Linked DNA regions of Homo sapiens: region 1 is linked to region 2. The links are contacts of gene promoters, found by promoter capture Hi-C in human tissues and cell types (Jung and others, 2019). All regions are on one chromosome and are shown on one strand. Each heading gives the region's core, a stretch centred on a gene start or on the middle of the fragment in contact. The rest is flanking DNA. Distances are from core to core; before and after follow the strand shown. Region 1 overlaps SPATS2 (spermatogenesis associated serine rich 2). Region 2 holds the start of RHEBL1 (RHEB like 1).

Region 1 (4,012 bases), core at 396-2,895, 450 kb before region 2:
TTTGTGGTCTCCTCTCCAGGGGAAACGACTGTTCACCATTTCTTACGTACACATCCAAATATTGTGTATGTACATACAACATGCATACATATGTAGCTCTCTTTTTTCCCTTCTCACAAATGGAAGTATATCATACACATGGTCTTTCTTTTACCTTAGCTATTTTTACTTAATATATCTTTAAATTTATTCCCTATTAATACATCTGGATCACCTTCATTCTGTTTAACAGCCACCCAGTATGTGGATATACCACAATTATTTACCGAGTTCCCTAGTGATGGGTATTTAGATTGTTACACCCTTTTAAGAACCACCTTCTCTGGCATGCTTTCTGATATATAACTTGGATATGGTCATGGCAGAGAACATACAATAAAAATCTCCCAGAGAGACAGGGGCTACAGTGGAAACAAAACCAAAGAAATCCTCCCAGGAAGCAGATAAACCACCCAACGAATGTTCTCTACTACCAGGGAAGGGACTCTGCTATTCCTTCCCATCCAGCAAGATTTGATCATTGCTTTTCCAAGTGGGAATTTTTACTATAATTATCCTTTTCTTTCTCCAACTATGTAATATGGGAGAAGGGGGCATTTAGCCTTTCTTTTAATTTATGAGACCCCATCCTTGGAAGATCTGAAATCACTCTGAAGACCTGGCCTTTCAGCTGAATATTAACTAACTAGATGAGACTTTGGAGGTATTGCTATTGAGGAGGTGGTGAACATATTCTCATTTTGGAAAAAAGAGGGATACTGGGTAGTGGAGGACTGTAGCAAAGACCATTAGCTGATGGAACACAGTCTTTCCAACTACATTCAGGAACATTCAGGGCTATCAGAAATCCAATGTTGTTGGGTACCAACATAATTGGGTAAAAAAAAAATCTATATTTTCTGGCTTTGCTACAGATGAAACGGCCATGTGATATAGTTTCCCCATTGAGATATAAGCAGAACTCAAAGGGCAGGCTTTACAGGAAAGCGTTTTAAGGGAGTCTTAGCATGTAACGTTTTACTCCTTCTCGACTGGAGCCTAGGGAGTTGTCTTTTGACCATAAGCATACTCTCAGAATGGCTGGGCAGAAGAACAGAAGATCCTGGGTCCCTAATGTCATCTGGGAAATGTCCTGCCAGCCCTGGGTTGCTTACCTCTGTACTTTTCATTTTCTGAGAAAAAAGGACACTCACATTTATTTAGGCCACTCTGTTCCATGTAGTCAAACTCAATCCCTAACTGATATACATAGAATCCTGTAACACACTGAGGAATTAGCCAAATTCACGTCAGAAAAAAACAGAAGTTTTAAAGAGTTACACCAGGTATTACAGAGAGCTGGATGTATTTAGCAAGTTTACTCAGCCCAACTGCCACAGAGATGCACACATGGGCTGCCTAGACCCAAGTCACACTAATCAATCAGGGCCCACTTTCTCAGGAGTCAGGAGCATGCCTACAAAAGTTTCTTAACGCCAAAGCCCAACAGTTACAAATGATCTATTGGTTTAGGTCCCAAGATAAAACCTATTTGCCATTTGTATCAACTTCAGTTTCTCTCAGCTCTAGCATTCAGTGATTCTATGACAAAATTATAGCTCTCAAAATGGCAAAAATGAGGTGAATAAAAAGCTTTCTACACGTAACAGATAACTCATAGGACCTAATTATACAACACTGGAAAAGATTGAAATACTACAAACCTATCAGTTACTTAATAAAATTATAATATGTAAAAAACAAAAAGCAACTCTTGATAGCACTGGTAAATGAGTAATTACTCTTGATAGCATTGGTAAATGAGTAATATCATTGAGAACCAGGATTTTCAGGGAGAAAAGAGCTAAAGATATAAAACTGATGAAGTTAAGTAAAACTTTGAGCTCTGAATTTGATAAAATAAGATTGGCCACAAATTGATAATTGGTTGAAGCTGAGTGATGGGAATTTGTTACATTAGCCTCGCTATCTGAAATTTTCTTTTCTTTTCTTTTTTTTTTTTTAGTTTTGAGATGGAGTCTTGCTCTGTCGCTAGGCTGGAGTGCAGTGGCGCAATCTCGGCTCACTGCAACCTCTGCCCCCTGGGTTCAAGTGATTCTCCTGCCTCAGCCTCCCGAGTAGCTGGGACTACAGGCGCATGCCACCATGCCCAGCTAATTTTTGTATTTTTAGTAGAGACAGGGTTTCACCATGTTGGCCAGGATGGTCTTGATCTCTTGACCTCGTGATCAGCCCGCCTCGGCCTCCCAGAGTGCTGGGATTACAGGCGTGACCCACTGCACCCGGCCAAAATTTTCTATTAATATAAAAGATGTATTAATATTCTTAAAAGCACCTTCTTTTTTTTTAATTTCAAGACAGGGTCTTGCTCTATCGCCCAGGCTGGAGTACAGTGGTGCAATCACAGCTCACTGCAGCCTCGACCTCCTGGGCTCAAGTGATCCTTCCACCTCAGCCTCTCAACTAACTAGGACTACATGTAGCACATGACCCCATGCCTGATTTATATATATATATATATATATATATATATATATATATATATATTTTTTTTTTTTTTTTTTTTTTTTTTTTTGAGATGGAGTCTTGCTCTGTTGCCAGGCTGGAGTGCAGTGGCGCAATCTCGGCTCACTGCAACCTCTGCCCCCTGGGTTCAAGTGATTCTCCTGCCTCAGCCTCCCGAGTAGCTGGGACTACAGGCGTGTGCCACCATGCCCAGCTAATTTTTGTATTTTTAGTAGAGACGGGGTTTTATCATGTTGGCCAGGATGGCCTCGATCTCCTGACCTCGTGATCTGCCCGCCTCAGCCTCCCAAAGTGCTGGAATTACAGGCATGAGCCACTGCGCCCAGCCTTATTTCTTATTTTTTGTAGAGACGAGGTTTCACTATGTTGCCTAGGCTGGTCTCAAACTCCTGGGCTCAGGTGATCCGCCCAAAGTGCTGGGATTATATGCGTGAGCCACCACGCCTGGCCTAAAAGGACCTTCTTCTCAAAACTAAGAAATATGTCTTCTTAGTGGTTTTAGTTTATCTGCATTTCCATTTTCAAAAAGAGAATATACAGATAAAATAATGGACTGAAATGTCAAATTTAGAAACTCAAAATATATTGCTCAATGTAATGAAATCTCACCTCTGAAAAACAGTGGAAGGCATCTCTGCTACATTCTCAAATTTTCAAGTTAAAATGGACCAAAGCTGAAGTCATTTCAGTGCTTCAAAGCTGCATCCTCTGGCCCGTGACCACACACACAAGTGATTTAACTGTGAGTCATGATCTCGACCTAGCCCAGCATTTCTATTCTTACCAGTTTGGGGGTGGGTTAAAATAAACAACTTTCCTAATAATTAATCTGGCGTTCAATGCAGGAAGATAAAACCTGCCACCGAAATGCCTCAAATCAATGCCATTGTACAAGTTGCAGTTGGTATTCCCTTGTCTTCGTGTAGCTGTGTATGTTTAACCTAACACTTAACAGAAATGATCAAAAAATAGGTATCTGTTTTTTCTGTACAAAACCCCACAAATCACCAAAGTTAGACTTCATTCCTCCAGAATCTATTTTAGTAAGCTTTCAAGAAACCTGGTATCTTGAACCCTCAATTCTCTAACTTTTCCCCTACCCATTGATAACAGACACTGAGTGAAGACTGTTCTATAAACTGAGAAAACAAAGAAAGTTCTGAGATAGGTAATGATAGGAGTATACACATACAATCGTAGGCAACCTAATGAAGTCTTCTCTGATTATGCTAAAGGTTTTTTTCCAAGTAGAAAAAATCCCAGTGGAATTGCTTAAACACTAGAGGAAGAAACAAAATAAAATAAAAACCTGGTGGCAGATACCGTGATGCAGTCTCTTATACACTGAACTCTGCATTCAAAATATTAAGATTTGGAAATATTTTTAAAACAGGCTCTTTAAAGTTATTTCACCTGAAAGGATTCATATGCCAGTACAGTGCAACTGCTTAAGATTATTTAAATATATAAACTCTTATTATGGTAT
Region 2 (3,946 bases), core at 845-3,344:
GTGCAATCCCGGCTCACTGCAACCTCTGCCTCCCGTGTTCAAACGATTCTCCTGCCTCAGCCTCCTGAGTAGCTGGAATTACAGGCATGCACCATCACGCACGGCTAATTTTTGTATTTTTAGTAGAGACGGGGTTTCACTATGTTGGACAGGCTGGTCTCGAACTCCCGACCTCAAGCGATCCGTCCACCTCAGCCTCCCAAAGTGCTGGGATTACAGGCATGAGCCACCATGCCCGGCCTAGGGCTTTTGTGAATATTAAATGAGATAACAATAAAATGCACCTGGCACATAGTATAGTCGAACTCTCTATAAATCTAGGTGATTTCCTTCCTTTCTTCCCTCCTCTACCAATCCTTCCACAAGTCATTTTAACCTTAGCTTCAGAATATCCTGAATTCTCAACTTCATTCAACATGATCACTCTAGTCAAGCGCTCTCATCTCTCACCTGGACTACAGGTAACAGTTTCCTCGCCAATCTCCCTGCTTCCTTTTGCTCCTGTTACCCTCAAACCCCAATCTATTCACTACAGCCAGGGAGATTTTTTAGAAAGACAATTTAGATCATGTCATGCCCCAGCTTAAATACCTTCAAGTACTTAGAATTAGCCCAGACTCCTTTATGTGGCCTGGCCTCTGCCATTCTCTTAGACTTCATCTGCTTTAGGCTAACTGGCTTTCTTTTTTTCTTCCCCTCTTCCTGGAATTTACCCAATTTATTTCCATCTTAACGCCTTAGCATTGGTGGATTCTTCTTGTGAAATCTCCTAGTTGGTTCCTTCAGATCTTAGTTTAAATGGGGTTTCCTATGAGAGAAAGTATCACTAAAGTGGTCATCTCAGCCAGGCTCGGTGGCTCACGTCTGTAATCCCAGCACTTTGGGAGGCCGGGTCAGGTGGATCACTTGAGGCTAGGCGTTCGAGACCAGCCTGGGCAACATAGCAAAACCCCATCTCTCCCCAAAATACAAAAATTAGCCAGTCTCATAACCCTGTCTCAAAATAAATAAAGAAAAAAAATTAAAAATGCTGTATTGTCTTTAAAAAATAAAGTGGTCGGCCGGGCGCGGTGGCTCACGCCTGTAATCCCATCACTTTGGGAGGCCGAGGCGGGCGGATCACGAGGTCAGGAGATGGAGGCCATGCTGGCTAACACGGTGAAACCCCGTCTCTACTAAAAATACAAAAAATTAGCCGGGCGCGGTGGCGGGCGCCTGTAGTCCCAGCTACTCTGGAGGCTGAGGCAGGAAAATGGCGTGAACCCGGGAGGCGGAGCTTGCAGTGAGCCGAGATAGAGCCACTGCCCTCCGGCCTGGTAGAAAGAGCGAGATTCCGTCTCAAAAAAAATAAAAATAAAAATAAAAAAATAAAAAAAATAAAGTGGTCATCTTTCATCACACCATCTTCTACAGCACTTAACACTCTCTGATATTTCCTTGTTGTATGTTTGTTTCTCCCTTCATAAGAGCAGACACATTGTCTGTGATGTCCATGTTCTGACCCCAAAGCTGGAGCAATGCCTGAAACATGTAGTATATACTCAGTATTTGTTGAAAAATGAATATTTGAGGATCATGATGATGAAGAAGAAACCTCAGACTACTTGATCATAAATTCTAGCAATTTCTGCAAGAATAAGAATTGCAGTTTGAAATTAGATGCTGGAAGACTGGAAACCTTGATAGGTCTGGGGCTGAAGGCTGGGGGAAGCAGAAGGAATATACTAGAACTTTGGCGGTTTTCTCCCTATCTAAGGACCCCAGAGACCATGCAAAAGGGAGGGCTAGAATCTTATGACCGGAAACCACAAAACGGGTATTTTCCATCCATAATTCTTCGAAGCCACTTCAGCTAGGCTGTAAATGCGCAAACGCCTTTAGGACCCCGGGTTCCTTTCTGTTTCTTTATGAATGAACCGGCTCCAGTCTGCGCACGCGCAGCTCCCAGTTCTCCCGCTCCACGTGAGGCCCACCCTTCCCTCCTGCTGGCGGCACCGCCCTTACCCATTCTAATGGACCAATGGCGAGCGGCCTGGGGGGCGGAGCCCGGCGCGGCGCGGCTCAGTAGTTCCCCGGGCGCCCGGCTCCCTGGCGTTAGACGTGCTGTGTTGTGATCACGTGGGCAGCTCCGGGCGCGGCGCTTGTTTTGGTTTCCTTCTAACTTGCCCACGGCAGCTTCGGGGTGAGCGACTTTCCTGCACCAGCTGCCGCGCCTGCTCACACCCTGACCTCGTTTTCGGGCTCTCTGAGCCCGCAGTTCCGCAAGCCCCTGGGGCGGGCTCCTGCCATGCCGCTAGTCCGCTACAGGAAGGTGGTCATCCTCGGATACCGCTGTGTAGGTGAGTCTCCGCCCTGCAGAGCTCGGACGCGCAGCAGCTTTGTAGCCAGAAGAGGCGCGCTGCCGTGGGAACGCGACCCAGGGAGGAATGATGACATCGTAAGGATGGGGTTGTAGAGCGAGGATTGGAAGAGTGGAGGAATGGAAGAGTGGAGGATTGGAAGAGTTGGTGGTGTGTGGAGGCTGCAGGAAGCGGGAGCACTTAAGGGTTAATGCGGACCTGGCTGCGGGAATCTCAGAGTGGTCCCAGCGTTACTTTGGGGATAGGGGTGGGGTCACAATTTGAAAACCGGGACGCGGTCTCCGTGGGGACAGATAGTCGCAGGTGTCCTGGGGCGGGGCGGACTTGATCCTAGGGAATCTTGGATCTTCCTACGAGTGGGATGGGGTGGGGAAGGCGGCGGGAAAGGCTTCCTGCTGCGCTTCTGAATGCATCCGGTAGCCAAAGTGCGGAGACCCTGGGTGAAAAGAGGGTGAGGGTAGACACAAAGGATAGCATTGCTTGAGGCACTCACAGACTGTGGTGTTAATTTGGGGTCTCCTTTGGTCCTGGGCCACAGTCCGAAAGGACAGAGGATGTGAATGTGGATGGATGATTTGGATACAACTGTCACACTGCTCCCCACAGGGAAGACATCTTTGGCACATCAATTTGTGGAAGGCGAGTTCTCGGAAGGCTACGATCCTACAGTGGAGAATAGTGAGTAGACTTCTCCCCTAGTGTGCTGGTGGTATGCGACCCGGAGGGCTTGGATACCCCACCCAACTCCATAATTTATTTCTCTGGTGCCAAGGGGCTGATTTATTTAGACATTACATCTGATTTCTTCTTTAGCAATCCTGTTCGATGGATGGCTAGAGTATGGATTTTGCAAGATATTGAGTCTGGGATAGTTTAGATGTAGACATTAAGAACCTTAGCGTGTCTTTCCAGTTACCTGGATAACTCCCTGGAGCTGATCTATCTGTGTCACCCCCAAGGTTAAGAATGTAAGGGGAGGCTGGGCGCAGTGGCTCATGCCTGTAATCCCAGCACTTTGGGAAGCTGAGGCGGGCGGATGGATTGAGGTCTGGATTTCGAGACCAACCTGGCCAACATGGTGAAACCTCATCTCTACTAAAAATACCAAAATTAGCTGGGCATGGTGGCGCACGCCTGTAATCCCAGCTACAAAGGAGACTGAGGTAGGAGAATCGCTTGAACCCAGGAGGCAAAAGTGGCAGTGAGCCAAGGTCGTGCCACTGCACACCAGCCTGGGTGTCAGGGTGAGACTGTCTCAAAAAAAAAAAAAAAAAAAAAAAAAAGCTGGGCACCGTGGCTTATGCCTGTAATCCCAGTTCTTTGGGAGGCCAAGGCAGGTGGATCACCTGAGGTCAAGAGTTCGAGACCAGCCTGGCCAACATGGTGAAACCCCGTCTCTACTAAAAATACAAAAAATTAGCCGGACATGGTGATGGACATCTGTAATCCCATCTACTCGGGAGGCTGAGGCAGGAGAATTGCTTGAACCTGGGAGGCGGAGGTTGCAGTGAGCCGAGATCGTGCCACTGCGCTCTAGCCTGGGCAACAAGAGTGAAGCAATGTCTCAAGAAAAAAAAGAAAAAAAA

Evidence for each region. The method cuts DNA at HindIII sites, captures the fragments that hold promoters and counts their contacts. A contact is called where the count stands out against the background at its distance.
Region 1: a contact is called between a fragment that was not itself captured here and the fragment with the promoter of RHEBL1 in region 2, in 2 of the 25 tissues and cell types used here (bladder and dorsolateral prefrontal cortex).

The regions. Positions count from the first base shown.
Region 1 is chr12:49,514,702-49,518,713 of GRCh38, reverse strand. All of the region lies in intron 10 of SPATS2 (spermatogenesis associated serine rich 2), which reads right to left. Among named protein-coding and RNA genes, the nearest start is that of KCNH3, 22 kb to the left of the region's middle. The HindIII fragment of the contact is 7,896 bases long and covers 1-4,012 here.
Region 2 is chr12:49,068,127-49,072,072 of GRCh38, reverse strand. It overlaps RHEBL1 (RHEB like 1), which reads left to right and starts at 2,094. Exons shown (of 8, transcript NM_144593.3): 1 at 2,094-2,339; 2 at 2,967-3,038. The coding sequence starts at 2,288. RefSeq lists enhancers at 1,651-1,700, 2,071-2,380 and a silencer at 1,931-2,050. The HindIII fragment of the contact is 9,146 bases long and covers 1-3,946 here.